2 separate regions of the Homo sapiens genome follow, and region 2 is linked to region 1. Evidence: promoter capture Hi-C in human tissues and cell types (Jung and others, 2019). All regions are on one chromosome and are shown on one strand. Each heading gives the region's core, a stretch centred on a gene start or on the middle of the fragment in contact. The rest is flanking DNA. Distances are from core to core; before and after follow the strand shown.

Region 1 (4,108 bases), core at 840-3,339:
AGGTATCATTTATTCATATTACTTTCTCCCATGTACTTTTTGAAAGACAGCTTATTCTTTCCCTTTTAGAGATGAGGGACCAGATTTAAGAGCTTATTTTGTGCTTTACATTCATTAACTCACTTGATCTCCACAGCAACTCCATGAGAAGGGTGCTAATATTACCACTGGGTACTGAGTAGTACCTCTCTTTCACTAGTTGCATAATAAGAATTAACCCAGAGAGTGACCTGAGGGCGGGATTTTGGACACACTTGACAAGAGAGGAAGAGGCTGGAGCGCAGGAGGTAGCTGGTGCTGGGCTCCTAGTCTTGGCAGAGGAGCCCAAAGCACTTGGCTGCCCTGCGTGTCACTCATCTCCCTTTGCCTCCCAGCTGGAGTCCCTGGATGCCCTAGAGCCTGAGGAGAAGGCTGAGGACTGCTGGGAGCTACAGATCAGCCCGGAGCTACTGGCTCATGGGCGCCAAAAAATACTGGATCTGCTGAACGAAGGCTCAGCCCGAGATCTCCGCAGTCTTCAGCGCATTGGCCCGAAGAAGGCCCAGCTAATCGTGGGCTGGCGGGAGCTCCACGGCCCCTTCAGCCAGGTAGCAGCCCACTGGACTGGGGGAGGGCGGGGGCGGGGGAGACCGGGTACCCCCGAGACCCTGTCCCCTATCGATCCTGTCCCGCCAGGTGGAGGACCTGGAACGCGTGGAGGGCATAACGGGGAAACAGATGGAGTCCTTCCTGAAGGTGAAGTCACGGCCCTGCCCCTCCTCTGCCTGTCCTGCGCCCCGCGCCCCTCTCTAACGTCGCTGTCTCCCTCCCTCCTGTGTTGCAGGCAAACATCCTGGGTCTCGCCGCCGGCCAGCGCTGTGGCGCCTCCTGACCGTCGTCTCCTCACTCCGCCTTTTCAAATTTTTGTATAACCCCGTGTTGTGTAAATACAGTTTTTGCTCCGGTGCTTCCGCCTGATTTTTGGGGCTGCGGGGGCGGGACCGGGGTGTGACCGCCTCGGGGTGGGCCGCGAGCAAGGCAGGCGACTCCACTGGGCGCCATCTTCGGGGAACGACTCAGCGCAGGATTGTAAATACACCGCTGGGGTGGGGCGGGGAGGACGGTGGCCTGCAGGACGCAAAAAGCGGAAGCCGAAGCATGAGGCCTGCGACCGTTAGGCGGGCGCGCGCTCAGGGATTAGCCCCGCCCCGTCCGTGCCCCCGGCGCGCGCGCTCCCCCATTCTCCCGCTCGGCAACGACGGCGGCCTTGTGCGCGTGCGCGCGAAATAACGGCCGCTGGCGGAGGGAGGGGGAGTGGAATCGTTGGCGGGGGGAAGAGGAGAGAAGCCGCCCTGTCTCCCGCGCGCCCACCACCTGCGCCATCGTCAGCCAATCAGCAGCCGTCTCAGGGGTCTCGCGCTCGGGGCGACTCGGGCTGCTGGGTGGCTCCCCCGTCCCTCCTCCCGCCAGAGTCCCTCTCGCGCCTGCCCCTCCCGCTGGCCACGCGCGCGCTCGCGCTAGCGCTCGCGCCCGCTCCAGCCTCTTGTGTGTCCTCGCGCCCCCCGCCCGCCCTCCCCGCGCGTAGTGTGCTCCGCTTCCCCCACCCTCCACCTCCCCCCTCCTGCCCGCCCCGCGCGCCTCCTCCCGGGTTCCCCCTCCCCCACCGCCGCCGCCTCCTCCTCCCGCCCCAGGGTGAGCGCGAGCCACCTCCCTCCCTCCCTCCGCCATGGATCCCAGCAACTGGAGCAGCTTCATCTTCCAGGTAACAACTCCCTCCCCCCGCCCCCACCCCCCTGCCCACACCCCCTCCTGCCCGCCCTCCCTCCCGTCCCACCCCCCCTCCGCGCGCCCGGTGCGCGCGCAGCTGTCCCCCTCCCTCCCTCGCGCCCTCCCCCGCCCTCCCCGAGGCGCCGGCTGGGCGCGCGCGCGGCGGGGGCCGAGGCTGCTCCCTCGCTCCCCCCACCCCGCCCCGCCAGGCTCCAACCGCCGCCGCCGCCGCCGCCGCCGCCCGGGCCCCCGCCCCCGGCCCCGGCCCCGCGGGGCCTCCCGCCCCCACCCAGGGGGCGTCGCCGCCGCCGTCGCCGCGGCGCTCCGCGGCCCGCAAGGCGCCCTCTTTTCCTCCCTCCCGCCGGCCGGGGTGCGCGGGCGGCGGGGCGGCCCGCGGGCCATGCGTTCGGCGCGGCCCAGCCCGGCCGGCCGGGGGCGGCGCCCCGAGCCCGGGCCCCGCGCGGCCCGCGCCCCCGGCCCCCGCTGAGCCCCGGGGGCCCCGCTGCGGCCGAGGCCATGTTCCCGGTGTTTCCTTGCACGCTGCTGGCCCCCCCCTTCCCCGTGCTGGGCCTGGACTCCCGGGGGGTGGGCGGCCTCATGAACTCCTTCCCGCCACCTCAGGGTCACGCCCAGAACCCCCTGCAGGTCGGGGCTGAGCTCCAGTCCCGCTTCTTTGCCTCCCAGGGCTGCGCCCAGAGTCCATTCCAGGTGAGTAGGGCCGGCCGCGGCGGCCCGGGCTGGGGGGGGACGCCCGCCCGCACCCGCGGCCCACTCGGCGCCTTGTCTCCGCAGGCCGCGCCGGCGCCCCCGCCCACGCCCCAGGCCCCGGCGGCCGAGCCCCTCCAGGTGGACTTGCTCCCGGTGCTCGCCGCCGCCCAGGAGTCCGCCGCGGCTGCTGCGGCCGCTGCCGCCGCTGCTGCCGCCGTCGCTGCCGCGCCCCCGGCCCCTGCCGCCGCCTCTACGGTGGACACAGCGGCCCTGAAGCAGCCTCCGGCGCCCCCTCCGCCACCCCCGCCAGTGTCGGCGCCCGCGGCCGAGGCCGCGCCCCCCGCCTCCGCCGCCACTATCGCCGCGGCGGCGGCCACCGCCGTCGTAGCCCCAACCTCGACGGTCGCCGTGGCCCCGGTCGCGTCTGCCTTGGAGAAGAAGACAAAGAGCAAGGGGCCCTACATCTGCGCTCTGTGCGCCAAGGAGTTCAAGAACGGCTACAATCTCCGGAGGCACGAAGCCATCCACACGGGAGCCAAGGCCGGCCGGGTCCCCTCGGGTGCTATGAAGATGCCGACCATGGTGCCCCTGAGCCTCCTGAGCGTGCCCCAGCTGAGCGGAGCCGGCGGGGGAGGGGGAGAGGCGGGTGCCGGCGGCGGCGCTGCCGCAGTGGCCGCCGGTGGCGTGGTGACCACGACCGCCTCGGGGAAGCGCATCCGGAAGAACCATGCCTGCGAGATGTGTGGCAAGGCCTTCCGCGACGTCTACCACCTGAACCGACACAAGCTGTCGCACTCGGACGAGAAGCCCTACCAGTGCCCGGTGTGCCAGCAGCGCTTCAAGCGCAAGGACCGCATGAGCTACCACGTGCGCTCACATGACGGCGCTGTGCACAAGCCCTACAACTGCTCCCACTGTGGCAAGAGCTTCTCCCGGTGTGCACGGGGCCTCGGCCGCCCGCTAGGCCGTGGGGAGGGAGGGACGCGACGGAGGTGGCCTGGCCGTGGCTGGCGGGGAGGGAGGCGGCTGCTGAGGCTGGGGAAGGGGAGCCACTCCCAGGGCGGAGGGAGGAAGCCTCTCCCGGTTACCAGGGAGCAAGGGGTGGTCCTTTGTCGAGGAGGTGGGCCTTGGGGTTGACGGAAGCTTCGCGTGGGAGGAGGCGGCGGCGGCGGCAGCGGCTGCTGGGCTCCAGGGGAGGGATTTCCTGCTTAAGTGTCGCTGTGACGGCCTGGGCTCCGGGAGGAGGCGCAGGGATCCTCGGAAAGGCCTGTGGTGCGGTTTGGTGGATTTGGGGCGCACCACCTCCGCCCTAACCCCAACCCCAACGTGTCCCCAGGCCGGATCACCTCAACAGTCACGTCAGACAAGTGCACTCAACAGAACGGCCCTTCAAATGTGAGGTAGGAAGCCCGCCTCCTCCTGTCTTGGTTTTCATGATTTTGATCCTCATGGTAGCTGTCTGAGTCAGTCTCTCAGACCCCCTTTTTCTCTCTCTTCTTTTTGCCTTTTTGCTCCATTTTCTCATCCCTTCTTCAAGGCCTCATCATGTCACTCCCATTTCCTACAGATCAAAGATCCCCAAGGCTCTGATTCCTTTAATCTCTTGCTCCCCCCTCCCCAGCCCACCAAGCTTTAACTCTCCTGTGACACCCCC
Region 2 (4,108 bases), core at 1,034-3,533, 600 kb after region 1:
AGTAGTGTCACAAGAGCCACTATTTTTATCTGTTTTGTTCACTACTACATCCCCCATACCTAGAAGGGTGACGGGTATATAGGACTCAATAAATACCCAGAGAGGCCAGGCGTGGTGGCTCAAGCCTGTAATTCCAGCACTTTGGGAGGCCAAGGTGGGTGGATCACGAGGTCAGGGGTTTGAGACCAGCCTGGCCAAGATGGTGAAACCCCGTCTCTACAAAAAATACAAAAATAGCCCGGTGTGGTGGTGTGTGCCTGTAATCCTAGCTACTTGGGAGGCTGAGGCAGGAGAATCACTTGAACCTGGGAAGCGGAGGTTGCAGTGAGCCTAGACTGTGCTATTGCACTCCAACCTGGGCGACAGAGCAAGACTCCATCTCAAAAAAAAAAAAAAAAAAAAAAAAAAACTCAGAGAATGAATGCAAAGTGGCTTTTGGGGATCCTGTGTGTGAGTATCCAGGCATTTGACCCCTTCTCCCAGCTCTGGGAAAGAGCCAGTTTTATAACTTCATTCCTGAGAGGTAATTTGGTGCAATAGAAGAGCACAAGCTTTGAATCTGCTGCTTGCCAGCTGTGTGACTTTGAGCAAATTACTTAACTTGTCTAAGCTTCCGTTTCTTCTTTTGTCCAATGGAGATATTATTGATCCCAACAGGGCTGTTGTAAAGAGACAACATAGAACTTGTAAGCACTTACTGAATGTTATTTCTGTTTTCCTTCATGATTTCTGAATCTTAGTTGCCCCATTCATAAAATGGGAAAATTAGATATCTGCTTTTTCAAGGGAAGTGGCTGTTTTTCAAAGGAAGTGGCATTTGTTTATTCCACTAAAAAAAAATCTATTTTTATATGAAATATCCCAATTTAATTTTTTTTTTCTTGAGACGGAGTTTCGCTCTTGTTGCCTAGGCTGGAGACCAATGGCATGATCTCGGCTCACTGCAACCACTGCCTCCCCAGTTCAAGCAATTCTCGTGCCTCAGCCTCTCGAGTAGCTGGGATTACAGGCATGCACCACCAAGCTTGGCTAATTTTTGTATTTTTAGTAGAGACGGGGTTTCACCATGTTGGTTAGGCTGGTCTCGAAATCCTGACCTCAAGTGATCCACCGGCCTCCGCCTCCCAAAGTGCTGGGATTACAGGCATGAGCCACCGCGCCCGGCTTTGAAACGATTTTTTTTTTTTTTTTTTTTTTTTTTTTTTGAGACGGAGTCTCGCTCTGTCGCCCAGGCTGGAGCGCAGTGGCGCGATCTCGGCTAACTGCAAGCTCGCCTCCCGGGTTCACGCCATTCTCCTGTCTCAGCCTCCCGAGTAGCTGGCACTACAGGTGCCCGCCACCACGCCCAGCTAATTTTTTGTATTTTGTTTAGTAGAGTCGGGGTTTCACCGTGTTAGCCAGGATGGTCTCTATCTCCTGACCTCGTGATCCGCCCGCCTCGGCCTCCTAAAGTGCTGGGATTACAGGCGTGAGCCGCCGTGCCCGTCCGAAAAGATTTTTTAAAAGTAAAAATACCCTAAGGGCCAAACAAGGTACCCCTGTGGACTGGATTTAGCTTTGGGCTGTTGTTCACCTAGGCTACTGATTGTCAGGGATGCTATGACATCCTTATCGTGTAACTTAGGCAAATCAGTTTACCTCCCTGAACTTCAGTGAGCTCATCTGTAAAATGGATCAGGACCCATCGTTATGCGGATCAAATGAGACCAGGTATGTAAGACGCTGAACAGCGCTGGCGCATGGTAAGCACCCCACGCATGACGCGACAGCGGTAGCTTGGGTGGATGTTGAATTGGTTAGGATGTATTCAAGGATATCCCAGAGGCCAGCGGAATAGGCGAAGCCGAGAAAGATGGAGAAAAGACGGCAGAGGAGATAAAGAGGGAATGGAAGAAGTGAGGAGGCAACAGGGTCCGCCCTCCAGGCGGGGCGCCAGGGAGAGGCCCAGGCCGGGGCGGGAGCGCACGTGGCCTATTTCGGGCGGAGCAGAGGCACTGGGCGCAGCGGAGACCTCCAAGCCGGCCCCAGGAGACGGGCCGCGAGGTTAGGTTGGAACTCGGCGGCAAGGACCTTGAACGCCGGGCTGGGGCGGCTCCAGGTGCTTGGGAGTCGGGGGACTGCGGAGGACGCCAAGTCTGAGCTCGCCGCCCTCTCCGAGCCGTTTGGGCCGGACGCCTGGGTCCTTCGGGCTCCGCCCCAGGGGGTGGGGCTATATGTTCGGACCAATGACCGGCCGTCCCTGCGGTCCCGCCCCCTCCCCGCCCCCGGAGCCGCGGCCTCGCTGAGTGCCCAGCCGCCCGGCGCCCAGGCCTGGGGCACCGCGAGTGCCGAACCTTCGGCTGGTGAGTGCGCACCCCCTCCCCGGGGTTTCCGCCCCGATCCCGCCTCCAGCCCGTGCCCCAGAGCTCCAGGTCGCCGACCCGGGCCCTGGGGAGTGACTCAGCGCAAGGATGGTGGCGACTTGCGGGGGCTGGAGATTCGAACTGTTCAAGGCCTTGAATGCTGGGATGAGTGGGGTGAACGCGAGCCCTCGGAGCTGGTCCCGGGGCTGTGCCAGAGCGTGGGGCCGGGCTGGGGTGGACGGGAGAGGACCAGATTCGGAGACCAGGGCAGGGCGGGAGAAGCCACGGCTGCACTGCCTTGCTGGGCCAGGGCCACGGTGGGCGGGGGGGGGGGTGGGGGGGGGCGGGTCCTGAGCTTCTGATCCAGCTCCCCGCCTCAGGACACCAAGATGCCTGGCGAACAGCAGGCAGAGGAAGAGGAGGAGGAAGAGATGCAGGAGGAGATGGTGCTGCTGGTGAAGGGTGAGGAGGATGAGGGTGAGGAGAAGTATGAGGTGGTGAAACTCAAGATCCCCATGGACAACAAGGAGGTATGTGTCACACACACCCTGGGGCACACTGTCCCCAAACCTGGTCCAGGCCCAGCCTCCCTCAGATAGAAGCCAGGGATCTTGCCCCTACTTTTCCCAGAATCTCGGATCTAAAACCTCAGGATTGGCCCATCCTTCTGCCCTACTGCCTGGGCTTCCATCATACAAAAGTCACGCCTACTGTCCCAGGCTTCCTGCTGGGTGCAGGAGATTAAACTCCGTCCTTGGATCCCCCATGGAGCTTGATGTTAGACTGAAGGGTAACCACACAGTTAGAATCCCGTGTGATGGCTGCAGGTACAGGGGGATGATGAAGCCTAGAAGTGGGAACTTAACTCAGATTTAGAGGTTGGGGAAAGGTCAGGTTAGTTCAACAGCAACAGTAACAATAGCTAACCCTTGCCTAGCATTTTCTATGTGCCAGGCACTGTTCTAAGCACCTCGATTCTATGATGTCGGTAGCATTTATTCCATTTTACAGATGAGGAGACTGAGGCCCAGGGCAGTTTGGTAACTGGCCACAGGTCTCAAAGTAAAAGGATGGCTTATGTGAGACTAGTAGGAGTCTGGGGTCAGAAGTGGGGTGATGGACCCAGTCAGAGGAAATGGCTCTTTTATTATTACTGTTGTTATTGTTTGAGACAGGGTCTCATTCAGTCACCCAAGCTGTAGTGCAGTACAGCTCACTGCAGCCTTGACTTCCCTGGGCTCAGGTGATCCTCCCACCTCAGCCTCCCAAGTAGCTGGGACTACAGGCATGCACCACTACACCTGGCTAATTTTTTTTTGTTTTGTTTTGAGACAGAGTTTCGCTCTGTTGCCCAGGCTGGAGTGCAGTGGCGTGATCTCGGCTCACTGCAGCCTCCACCTCCCGGGTTCAAGTGGTTCTCCTACCTCAGCCTCCCAAGAAGCTGGGATTACAGGCATGCACCACCACGCCCGGCTAATTTTTTGTATTTTCAGTAGAGTTGGGGTTTTGCCATGTTGGCCAGACTGGTCTCAAACTCCTGAGTTCAGGTGATCCTCCCACCTCAGCCTCCCAAAGTGCTGGGATTATAGGTGTGAGCCACCGTATCCAGCCAGAAATGGCCCTTATAGAGGCTCAGACGAGTGAGTAGTGCACTGCAGCAGTGAGGGTGGGTGGTTCGGTCATGCTGTAGTGTGGATGAGTGGGGGTGGTTGGCAGGCCACACAGGGAGTCTGGCTTTTATTCTGAGGGTATTTGAAGGTTTTGAG

What was found. Contacts are between HindIII fragments. The study calls those that stand out against the background at their distance.
Region 2: a contact is called between the fragment with the promoter of ZNF771 here and the fragment with the promoter of MAZ in region 1, in 1 of the 25 tissues and cell types used here (small bowel).

The regions. Positions count from the first base shown.
Region 1 is chr16:29,804,440-29,808,547 of GRCh38, forward strand. MAZ (MYC associated zinc finger protein) reads left to right here and starts at 2,090. Exons shown (of 5, transcript NM_002383.4): 1 at 2,090-2,454; 2 at 2,539-3,389; 3 at 3,791-3,854. The coding sequence starts at 2,263. KIF22 (kinesin family member 22) reads left to right here. Exons shown (of 14, transcript NM_007317.3): 12 at 375-587; 13 at 676-735; 14 at 824-945. The coding sequence ends at 871. RefSeq lists silencers at 591-640, 1,381-1,720, 1,851-1,990, 2,891-3,560 and enhancers at 1,021-1,070, 3,641-3,880. The HindIII fragment of the contact is 10,316 bases long and covers 1-4,108 here.
Region 2 is chr16:30,405,323-30,409,430 of GRCh38, forward strand. It overlaps ZNF771 (zinc finger protein 771), which reads left to right and starts at 2,284. Exons shown (of 3, transcript NM_001142305.2): 1 at 2,284-2,342; 2 at 2,723-2,872. The coding sequence starts at 2,732. RefSeq lists silencers at 2,008-2,187, 2,210-2,419. The HindIII fragment of the contact is 10,608 bases long and covers 818-4,108 here.